Regions from separate parts of the Homo sapiens genome. Here regions 1 and 2 are each linked to region 3. The links are contacts of gene promoters, found by promoter capture Hi-C in human tissues and cell types (Jung and others, 2019). All regions are on one chromosome and are shown on one strand. The core of a region is centred on a gene start or on the middle of the fragment in contact, and the rest is flanking DNA. Distances in the headings are between cores, read along the strand shown.

Evidence for each region. The method cuts DNA at HindIII sites, captures the fragments that hold promoters and counts their contacts. A contact is called where the count stands out against the background at its distance.
Region 1: a fragment that was not itself captured here is called in contact with the fragment with the promoter of ZNF560 in region 3 in 2 of the 25 tissues and cell types used here (ovary and small bowel).
Region 2: a contact is called between a fragment that was not itself captured here and the fragment with the promoter of ZNF560 in region 3, in 2 of the 25 tissues and cell types used here (adrenal gland and pancreas).

What each region holds. Positions count from the first base shown.
Region 1 is chr19:9,552,445-9,555,270 of GRCh38, reverse strand. No RefSeq gene overlaps it. Among named protein-coding and RNA genes, the nearest start is that of ZNF426-DT, 15 kb to the right of the region's middle. The HindIII fragment of the contact is 5,877 bases long and covers 1-2,826 here.
Region 2 is chr19:9,456,031-9,458,915 of GRCh38, reverse strand. LOC105372269 (a long non-coding RNA gene) reads right to left here. Exons shown (of 3, transcript XR_007067133.1): 2 at 1-2,885. It also overlaps a transcript of ZNF560 not described here. Among named protein-coding and RNA genes, the nearest start is that of ZNF266, 22 kb to the right of the region's middle. The HindIII fragment of the contact is 4,913 bases long and covers 1-2,885 here.
Region 3 is chr19:9,497,182-9,500,109 of GRCh38, reverse strand. It overlaps ZNF560 (zinc finger protein 560), which reads left to right and starts at 1,494. Exons shown (of 10, transcript NM_152476.3): 1 at 1,494-1,572; 2 at 1,895-1,982. The HindIII fragment of the contact is 15,358 bases long and covers 1-2,928 here.

The sequences.
Region 1 (2,826 bases), core at 18-2,517, 55 kb before region 3:
TTCCTAACTAAATCCAAGCACACTTTTCATCACGTTCAACTTCCAGGTTATTTTTATTTTTATTTTATTTTTTGAGATGGATTCTTGCTCTGTCACCCAGGCTGGAGTTCAGTGGCGCAATCTCAGCTCTCTGCAACCTCTGTCTCCTGGGTTCAAGTGATTCTCTGCCTCAGCCTCCTTGGTAGCTGGGTCTACAGGTGTGTGCCACCACCCCTGGCTAATTTTTGTGTTTTTTAGTAGAGAAAGAGTTTCACCATGTTGGCCAGGCTGGTCTCGAACTCCTGACCCAAGTGATCCACCCGCCTCGGCTTCCCAAGTGCTGGGATTACAGGTGTGAGCCACCATGCCTGGCCAACTTCCAGGTTATCTAAATGCACTTTGCATAAGGAGAAATAATCACACTGTAGAAGGTTTTTCTTTACCTTTTTGGTAGCTGGTCTAAGAAAGGTTTTACAAGAAATTATCGAGATAATTTCCTGTATTGCCTTTATTAAGTTTTTTATCACTTAAAAAAAAAAACCTGGTTGGTTGGGCATGGTGTTTCATGCCTGAATCCCAGCACTTTGAGAGGCTGAGGTGGGAGGATCACTTGAGTTCAGGAGTTCGATACCAGCCTGGGCAACATGATGAAAGCCCATCTCTTAAAAAAAAAAAAAAAAAAAAAGACACACATACAAAAATTAGCTGGGTGTGGTAACGTGTGCCTGTAGTCTCAACTACTGGGGAGGCTGAGGTGGGAAGATCACTTAGGCCTGGGAGATCAATGCTGCAGTGAACTTTTGTGCTGCTGCACTCCAGCCTGGGCCACTGAGTGAGACGCTGTCCCCCATCTACCCCTGAAATAAATAAAAAGAATCAACAAAAAACTCTGGGCTTTAAAAGGATTCATTTTTTCCTAGTAACTCTATTTACTCCTACTAATGACTTTTGATTATCACTGTATTTACATGGATTACTAACAAGTGAGCTGTTATCCTGTTTCAATCAAATGTTTTGAGCCTTCTAACATCTTTGACAAACTTCCCCAAATGCAAATTCTTTTTATTTTATTTTATTTATTTTTTTTGAGACAGAGACTCGCTCTGTCTCCCAGGCTGGAGTGCAATGGCATAATCTTGGCTCATTGCAACTTCTACTTCCTGAGTTCAAGTGATTCTCCTGCCTCAGCCTCCCGAGTAGCTGGGATTACAGGTGTGCGCTAAGATGCCTGGCTAATTTTTGTATTATTAGTAGAGGTGGGGTTTCACCATGTTGGCCAGTTTGGTCTCGAACTCCCGACCTCAGTTGATCCTCCTGCCTCAGCCTCCCAAAGTGCTGAGATTACAGGTATGAGCCACCACGCCTGGGCTTCTTTTTTATTTTTTTGAGACGGAGTCATGCGCTGTTGCTGAGGCTGGAGTGCAATGTCATGATCTCAGCTCACAGCAACCTCCACCTCCCAGGTTCAAGCAATTCTCCTACCTCAGCCTCCTGAGTAGCTGGGATTACAGGCACCCACCACCATGCCCAGCTAATTTTTGTATTTTTTGTAGAGATGGGATTTAATCATGTTGGTCAGGCTGGTCTCGAACTCCTGACCTCAGTTGATCTACCTGCTTCAGCCTCCCAAAGTGCTGGGATTACAGGCATGAGCCACCACGCCTGGCCTGTTTTTATGACTTTTATTCAAAAGATTGTTCTTTACGCAAATGTTTTGTTTTTTTCAGAATTAAGAAACTGTTCTATCTTAACTTACCTCTAATATACCTCTGTTTGATAAAGTATATTTTTTGAGCCAGGCTCTCACTCCATCACCCAGGCTGGAGTGCAGTCATGCTGCTGTAGGACAAGCAAGCTTCAAATTGGGACTTAGCCAATGAGGGTTTTTGGCCTTGGCCAGGAAATAATTCAGGGTGAGCTGGTGGTAGAAGAAAGAAGCTTTATCGAAGAAGCAGTGTTTCAGCTCTGGTGGTGGTACAGCTTTGTGACTACTCCTATGGGAAACCTCATAGGCAGTGTGCTGAGAGTAGCAGCTCAGGGCAGTTTTGCGGTCATATTTATACCTACTTTTAATTACATGTAGATTAAGGGGCAGTTTATGCAGAAATTTGTAGGAAAATGGTGGTAACTTTGGTCATCGGGTCATTGCCATGGAAAGGGGTGGAAACTCCTGGGTGTTGCCATGGCAATGTTAAACTGACATGGCTCACTGGTAGGCGTGTCTTATGGAAAGCTGCTTCTGCCCCATCCCTGTTTTAGCTAGTCCTCAATTTTGTCCAGGTCTGAGCCCCACCTCTGGAGTCAAATTATTCCTCCTACCTCAGTGTGATCACTGCTCACTGCAGCTTCAGCCTGCTGGGCTCAGGCAGTCCTCCTACCTCAGCCTCCTGAGTAGCTAGAACTATAGACATGCACCACTGTGCCTGGCTAATGTTTAATGCCTGCCCCAGCTGCCTGGCTTCTCCCTGCTGTCCACGCCCCCTCCTATCTTGGAGCAAAGTCAGGCCAAGCCGGGTCACCATGAACAGCAGGATAGACATGAGAGAGTCCCAGGGGGAAAGGGGTAGGTCCCTGGTAAGGTTCCTCCTTCTGGCCAGGGACGGCCTGAAGGCTGGTGGCTGGGCTGCCAGTCCCATGAACTGGAATGGTAATTGGTGCCTTTTCCAGGCCCGCCCATGGCCACCCATGGGCCAATTGGCATGCACTTCCTGCCCTCTGAGGCTCACTAAATGTCCCTGGCTCAGCCAGAGCTGAGCAGACAGTGCCACTAGCAGAAGAGAGGAGCTAGTGTCTCTGCTGAGACCCTCAGAGACCTGCAGAGACCACCGAACAACTTGCCTGAGGAGA
Region 2 (2,885 bases), core at 340-2,839, 41 kb after region 3:
TACATAAGCTAGTCTCCCAAACGAGGGAACATGTGTGACATCCATTTGCCAAAGAGAATTAGGTTCCAATCCTCAAGGAATCATTTGGCAAGTTGGGCATCGCTGGTTAATAGCTTTAGCTTCTTTCCAGGTAATGCTGTATCTGTGTCTGAGACCAGAGACATTAACGTGTGTTAAATTGTGGAATTGTCTAGCATTAGATATTGCAGTAGCAACTAGGTGATCAGCCATTTGATTCCCTACAGTCAAAGGTCCTGGAAGAGGTGTATGAGCCCTAATGTGAGTGATGTAAAAAGGGTGCATTCTACTCCTAACTGCTGTTTGCAATTGGGTAAATAAAGTCATCAGTTGCTCTTATGTGTGGAATTGTAGCTGAGCATTTTCAACTAACTGTGTAGAACCACATATGAAGAATCAGAAATCATATTAATAGGCATATTAAAAGCAGTCAATGCCTCAATTACAGCCTCAAGCTCCGCTTTTTGAGCTGAAGTATAGGGCGTCTGAAAAACTTTACCTTTCAATCCAGAATAAGAGGCTTTACCATTACTAGACCCATCTGCGAAGACATTCTCAGTACCTTCAATTGGTTTGATTTAGTCATTTTAGGGAGAATCCAATTAGTTAATTTCAAAAAATTGAAACAGTTTCATGTTAGGAAAATGGTTATTGAGAATACCCACAAAGTCAGCTAAATGGGTTTAACAAGTAAGACTATTTATAAAAGCTTGCTGTATTTGTGTCTTTGTGAGAGGGATAATAATTTTTCCAGGATCATATCCGTGTAATTTAACAATCCGAGTTCTCCCATTTCCTATCATAGTAGCAATTCGATCCAAATAAGGAGTCAAAGTCCGTGAATTAGTATATGGAAGGAAAAGCTACGCCACAAGATCTCGCTCTTGAACAATAACACCAGTAGGTGAATGCTGAGTTGGAAAAATGAGCAAATCTAGAGTATTCTCTAGATCTATTCTATTTATTTGGGCCTTATGGACTTGCTTTTCAATTAGCTGCAGCTCTGCCTCAGCTTCTTTTGTTAATTGCCAAGGGCTTGTGACACTAGGATCTCCTCTAAAGATAGAAAACAGAGTACTCATGGCATAAGTCAGAATGCCTAGAGCAGGCGGTATCCAATTAATATACCCTAGTAAATTTTGAAAGTCTGATTCAATGTTTTCTATTGATCCTACATATGGCTACTTTCTGTGGCATTATTGTGGTGACATTTACTAAGGCCCCCAAGTAGACGTAAGGAGTAGTAGTCTGAATTGCGTCAGGAGCTATAATTAAACTGGCATGAGAAATTGAATTCTCCAAGTGACCGTAACATTGGAGTAATATTTCCGGAGTGGGGGAAGCACAAAGAATATCATCCATATGATGAATAATGTAACACTGTGAAAATCTTTTATGAGTAGGTTCAATTGCTTGCCCTACATAAGTCTGGCAAATTGTTGGACTGTTTAACATGCCTTGTGCAACACTTTCCAATTAAAACGCTTAGCAGCCTGCAAGTTGTTTACCACAGGAATCGTAATTGCAAACTGTTCACAGTCCTGCTGAGCTAAGGGGATAGTAAAGAAACAAGTCTTTTAAATCTATGGCTATTAAAGGCCAATTTTTTGGAATCATAGCAGGAGAAGGCAGTCCTGGCTGTAATGCCCCAATAGGTTATATAGCTGAATTAATAGCCCTTAAGTCAGTTAACATTCTCCATTTACCTGGTTTTGTCTTAATTACGAAAACTGGGGAATTCCAAGGGGAGAGAGTTTGAGCTATATGTTCCTTTTGAAGCTGTTCTTTGACTAGTTCATTTAAAGCCTCCAGTTTCTCTTTACTCAGCGGCCACTGTTCTATCCATATTGGCCTGTCTGTCAGCCATTTTAACAGGATAGGCTCTGCAGGCTTACCATCAAAAATGGTATCCTAAGTCTTGGCGGGAACTTTGTCTTTCCGCTTGAAGAGATTCCTTCAAACCTTGCAAATTTTTTCCTAGTTCCATACCATGGACATACCCCATTTCATGCATCATATGTTGACTTTGAGGGCTGTATAATTGCTCAGGAATTAGAACTTGTGCTCCCCATTGTTGTAATAAATGTATGGGGGGAGAGCCCCCATAAATTTATAGGTATAGAAGTTATAATTGGTTGAATAGTCCCAGGTTGTCCATCGGGCCCTTTACAATGCAAAGTATAACTACTTTGATATACTTCAGGGGCTTTATCAACTCCAACTATGTTAAATTGAGCAGGCTGAATTGGCCATGCAGACGGCCAGTGATGTAGAGATATGATTGAAATGTCCACTCCTGTATCTACCAAACCTTTAAATTTCTTTCGCTGAATAGTTTTTTCACAGGTAGGATGGTTATCAGTAATTTGATTTACCCAGTAGGTGGCTCTCCCTTGTTTATTTGTACTGCCAAATCCCCTTGTTCTTTTAGTTTCACTTTTTCCTAGTCCCACATACGGTAAAATCAGAAGCTGCCCTATACGCTCTCCCGGTTCTGCCTTTTAAGGAACAGAGGTAGATATAACGATTTGAATTTCCCCGTTACAATCCAAATCAATTACTCCTGTATGAACCTGCACTCCTTTTAAATTTAAACTAGATCTTCCCAGAAGTAGTCCTACCATTCCTGCTGGCAGAGGTCCGCAGACTCCTGTTGGTACCTTCTGCAGTGGCTTTCCAGGCAGGAGACTCACAGCCCTGGTGCAACACAGATCTACTGAGGCACTACCAGCTGTGGCGGGGGACAAGCATTATACAGGGGTGAGGGAGTGGTCTGAGCCAGGAATGCCCTGGTTTGGAATGTGGCTCAGGATTGGCCCCTCATGGCGTTTCTCGAAATCGGGTTTCCGTCTTTATCAAATTTAGAA
Region 3 (2,928 bases), core at 245-2,744:
GCCCAGCCTCTACAGGAAATTCTAGCCAGAGCAATTACACAAGAAAATAAAATAAAAGGTTTCTCAATTAGAATAGAACAAATAAAAATATATTTATAGGTGATATTTGATATATAGAGAATTTTGAAGAATCTACAAGAAAACTAGCAGAGCTTGTAATAAATTCCGTAAAGTTGCACAGTACAACATCAAGAGATGAAAATTAGTTTTGTATCTATACACCAGCAATGAACAATCAGAAAAGGAAACTGAGAATGTGATCCCTTTTACAAATAAGTTACATGGGAATAACTTTACCCCAAGAGGTAAAATATTTGTAAACTGAAAATTTCAAAACATTACTGAAAGAGTTTAAAGAAGACCTAAATAGAGAGATATTGTATATTCACACATAGGAAGACTCAGTATTATAAAGATACCAATATAACCCGAAGATTCAACTAAATCTCTACCACAAGTCCAACAGTCCTTTCTTTTTCTGCACAGAATAAGTGAAGAATGCCTGGTATCAGTGTTATTTCATAAAGTAGTACAGGAGGCTTTGAATCATTTGATAAGATTTGAGAAATAGTAACAAATACATTGTTGAAGAAGAAAAAAAAATACAATAAGGCCAGGCATGGTGCATGATGGCTCACGCCTGTAATCCCACTTCGGGAGTGCAGGGCGGGCAGATCACTTGAGCCCAGGAGTTCCAGACCAGCCTGGGCAACATGGTTAGATCCTGTCTCTACAAAATAATAATAATGATGATAATAATAATAATACAAAAATTAGCCGGGTGCGGTGCGCCCGTGGTCCCAGCTACTCGGGAGGCTGAGGTGGAAGGATGGCTTGAGCCTGGAGAGGTGGAGACTGCAGTGAGCCGTGTTCCTACCACTGCATTCCAGCCTTGGCAACCGAGCCAGACCCTACCTCGAAGAAAAAAAGAAAAGAAAAGAAAAAAGAAAGAAAAGAAAAAAATTGCAATATTTACAGAAAGTATCGATAACTGAAAACGCAGAGGAATCAATGATTAGAGTTTAGCAAGGTCAGATAAATAAAAAGAAATAAGAGAAAATAAAGTTCTAAAGACGTGATCGAATGCAGGAAGCAGGCCATTTTGTGGATTGGCAGGTTATCAACTGGAGAGAATCCTGAAAGGGGTCCAGGAACGTGGGGAAAGTTTCTAATGAGCATCCTGAGGGGCGAGTCCATCGCCCGACGTTTCGCCTTCCTGGTCCATTCTGCCACCGAAGCCACCGGCTGGGTCTGGTCCCACCTCCAGCCCCGCCCCCGGGCATGGGCCCCGCCCACAGCCCTGATTTAACCCCCACCTTTCTCTGTGGGTCCATTTCTCTCTTGCCCACCCAGGCACTGAGCCGACCCCTTGATACCTCCGCACCCACGCGGAGGGAAACTAGAATCCTGAAGAGTTCCATCCTGTCCAACTGCCCACACAACGAGCCACGCCCCTTCCAATGCCCCAAACGGAAGTGACGTTGCGGCGCGCCAGTTCTCTCTTTTGGTCGCTGGCGCCTGTTTCCTCAGAGCCACTTTTTCCTTTGTGTTGTCTGGTCGTTCACTACTTTGGTGAGGCTCGTGTGGACTAGTGGGTTGGGCGGTGTTTCGGGGGGTGGCAGAGGTCACAATCGACCCAGGGTAATCGAGGAACCTCCTTACAGAGGCCTGGACCACTCCACAGGAGTCCGCAGGAGTCGCGGAGCCATCGGGTGAGGCCACGTCGAAGAGGCCATTGGGACCTTCGGTCCCCTAGAGGAGCCGGGTGGGAAGTGCAGTATGGGCGCGTCCGAGGGCTGTTTTCAGCCGTGTGTTCCCGTCTTCAAAAGTGTCCAAGCGTTCTGAGGCCTTAAAAAATAAGTCTCCAAGGCAACGTTTGTGAATTGTGTTTCAGAGGGAAAAGAATTTTGCCGTTCGCGTTCGATTGACTCCGTCCCCAAGATCCTGTAGCCCCACGGACCTGGCGACTCCACCGTGTTCGGGTGAGCATTGGGAAAAAGTTGGTTTAAGGGGGCAGCTGCTTCCTTTTTTATGCAAACGAGTGTTTCATGTGAGATTTTGGCATTTTGCCTTTGTGAAACCTGTATATTTTTTATTGACACATTACGTTCCGGTAGAAAGGTGCTTTCTTAGTTGTCTAGGGTGTGCGTATTTCTGCATGTGCATATAAACGTTTGTAGACCGCGAGTCTTTCTACTAAAGAAACCTAAGAATACTCAGCCATTCTTTTCATCTGAAGTTCCTAGCTCTGTACGTCTCCAAAGAGCTTCATAACCAGGCTTCCTGGAAGAAAGGATGGAGGGTTTACACACTAATACTAGAATAATCGAATTTACCATTAACAGGATGACTGTACTAAGTGTATTTTTCCCGCATTTTTTTTCGAAAAAACTTAAACCTATGGGTATGTTGACCATCCAGTACCACGAATAAATATCCATTGTAGCTGCACCTGTTTTTTAGCGTTTTGTGTATTCGCCGTCTCGTAAATAAATTTTATGGTGAACAGTTTGAGAGTCAATGGGAAATTCATTGCAGAGATGAAGCTCGACATTTTTTTTTTTTTTTTTTTTTTGAGAGGGGGTCTAGCTGTGTCGCCCAGGCTGGAGTGCAGTGGCGCGATCTCGCCTCACTGCAACCTCTGCCTCCCGGGTTCAAGCGATTCTCCTGCCTCAGCTTCCCAAGTGGCTGTAATTACAGGGGTGTGCCACCGTGCCCGGATAATTTTTTGTATTTTTGTAGAGATGGGGTTTCACCGTGATAGCCAGGATGGTAAGCTCGACATTTAAGTAGTGGGTAATGCCTGACTCAATGATAAGAGTGTTGTTTTACTAAAACCGTAATACTATTTGCATCAAGAAAATTAAAAATAATAATGTTATCTAATATTTACTATGTATAATAAATGAAAATTCTCCAAATTCTTCT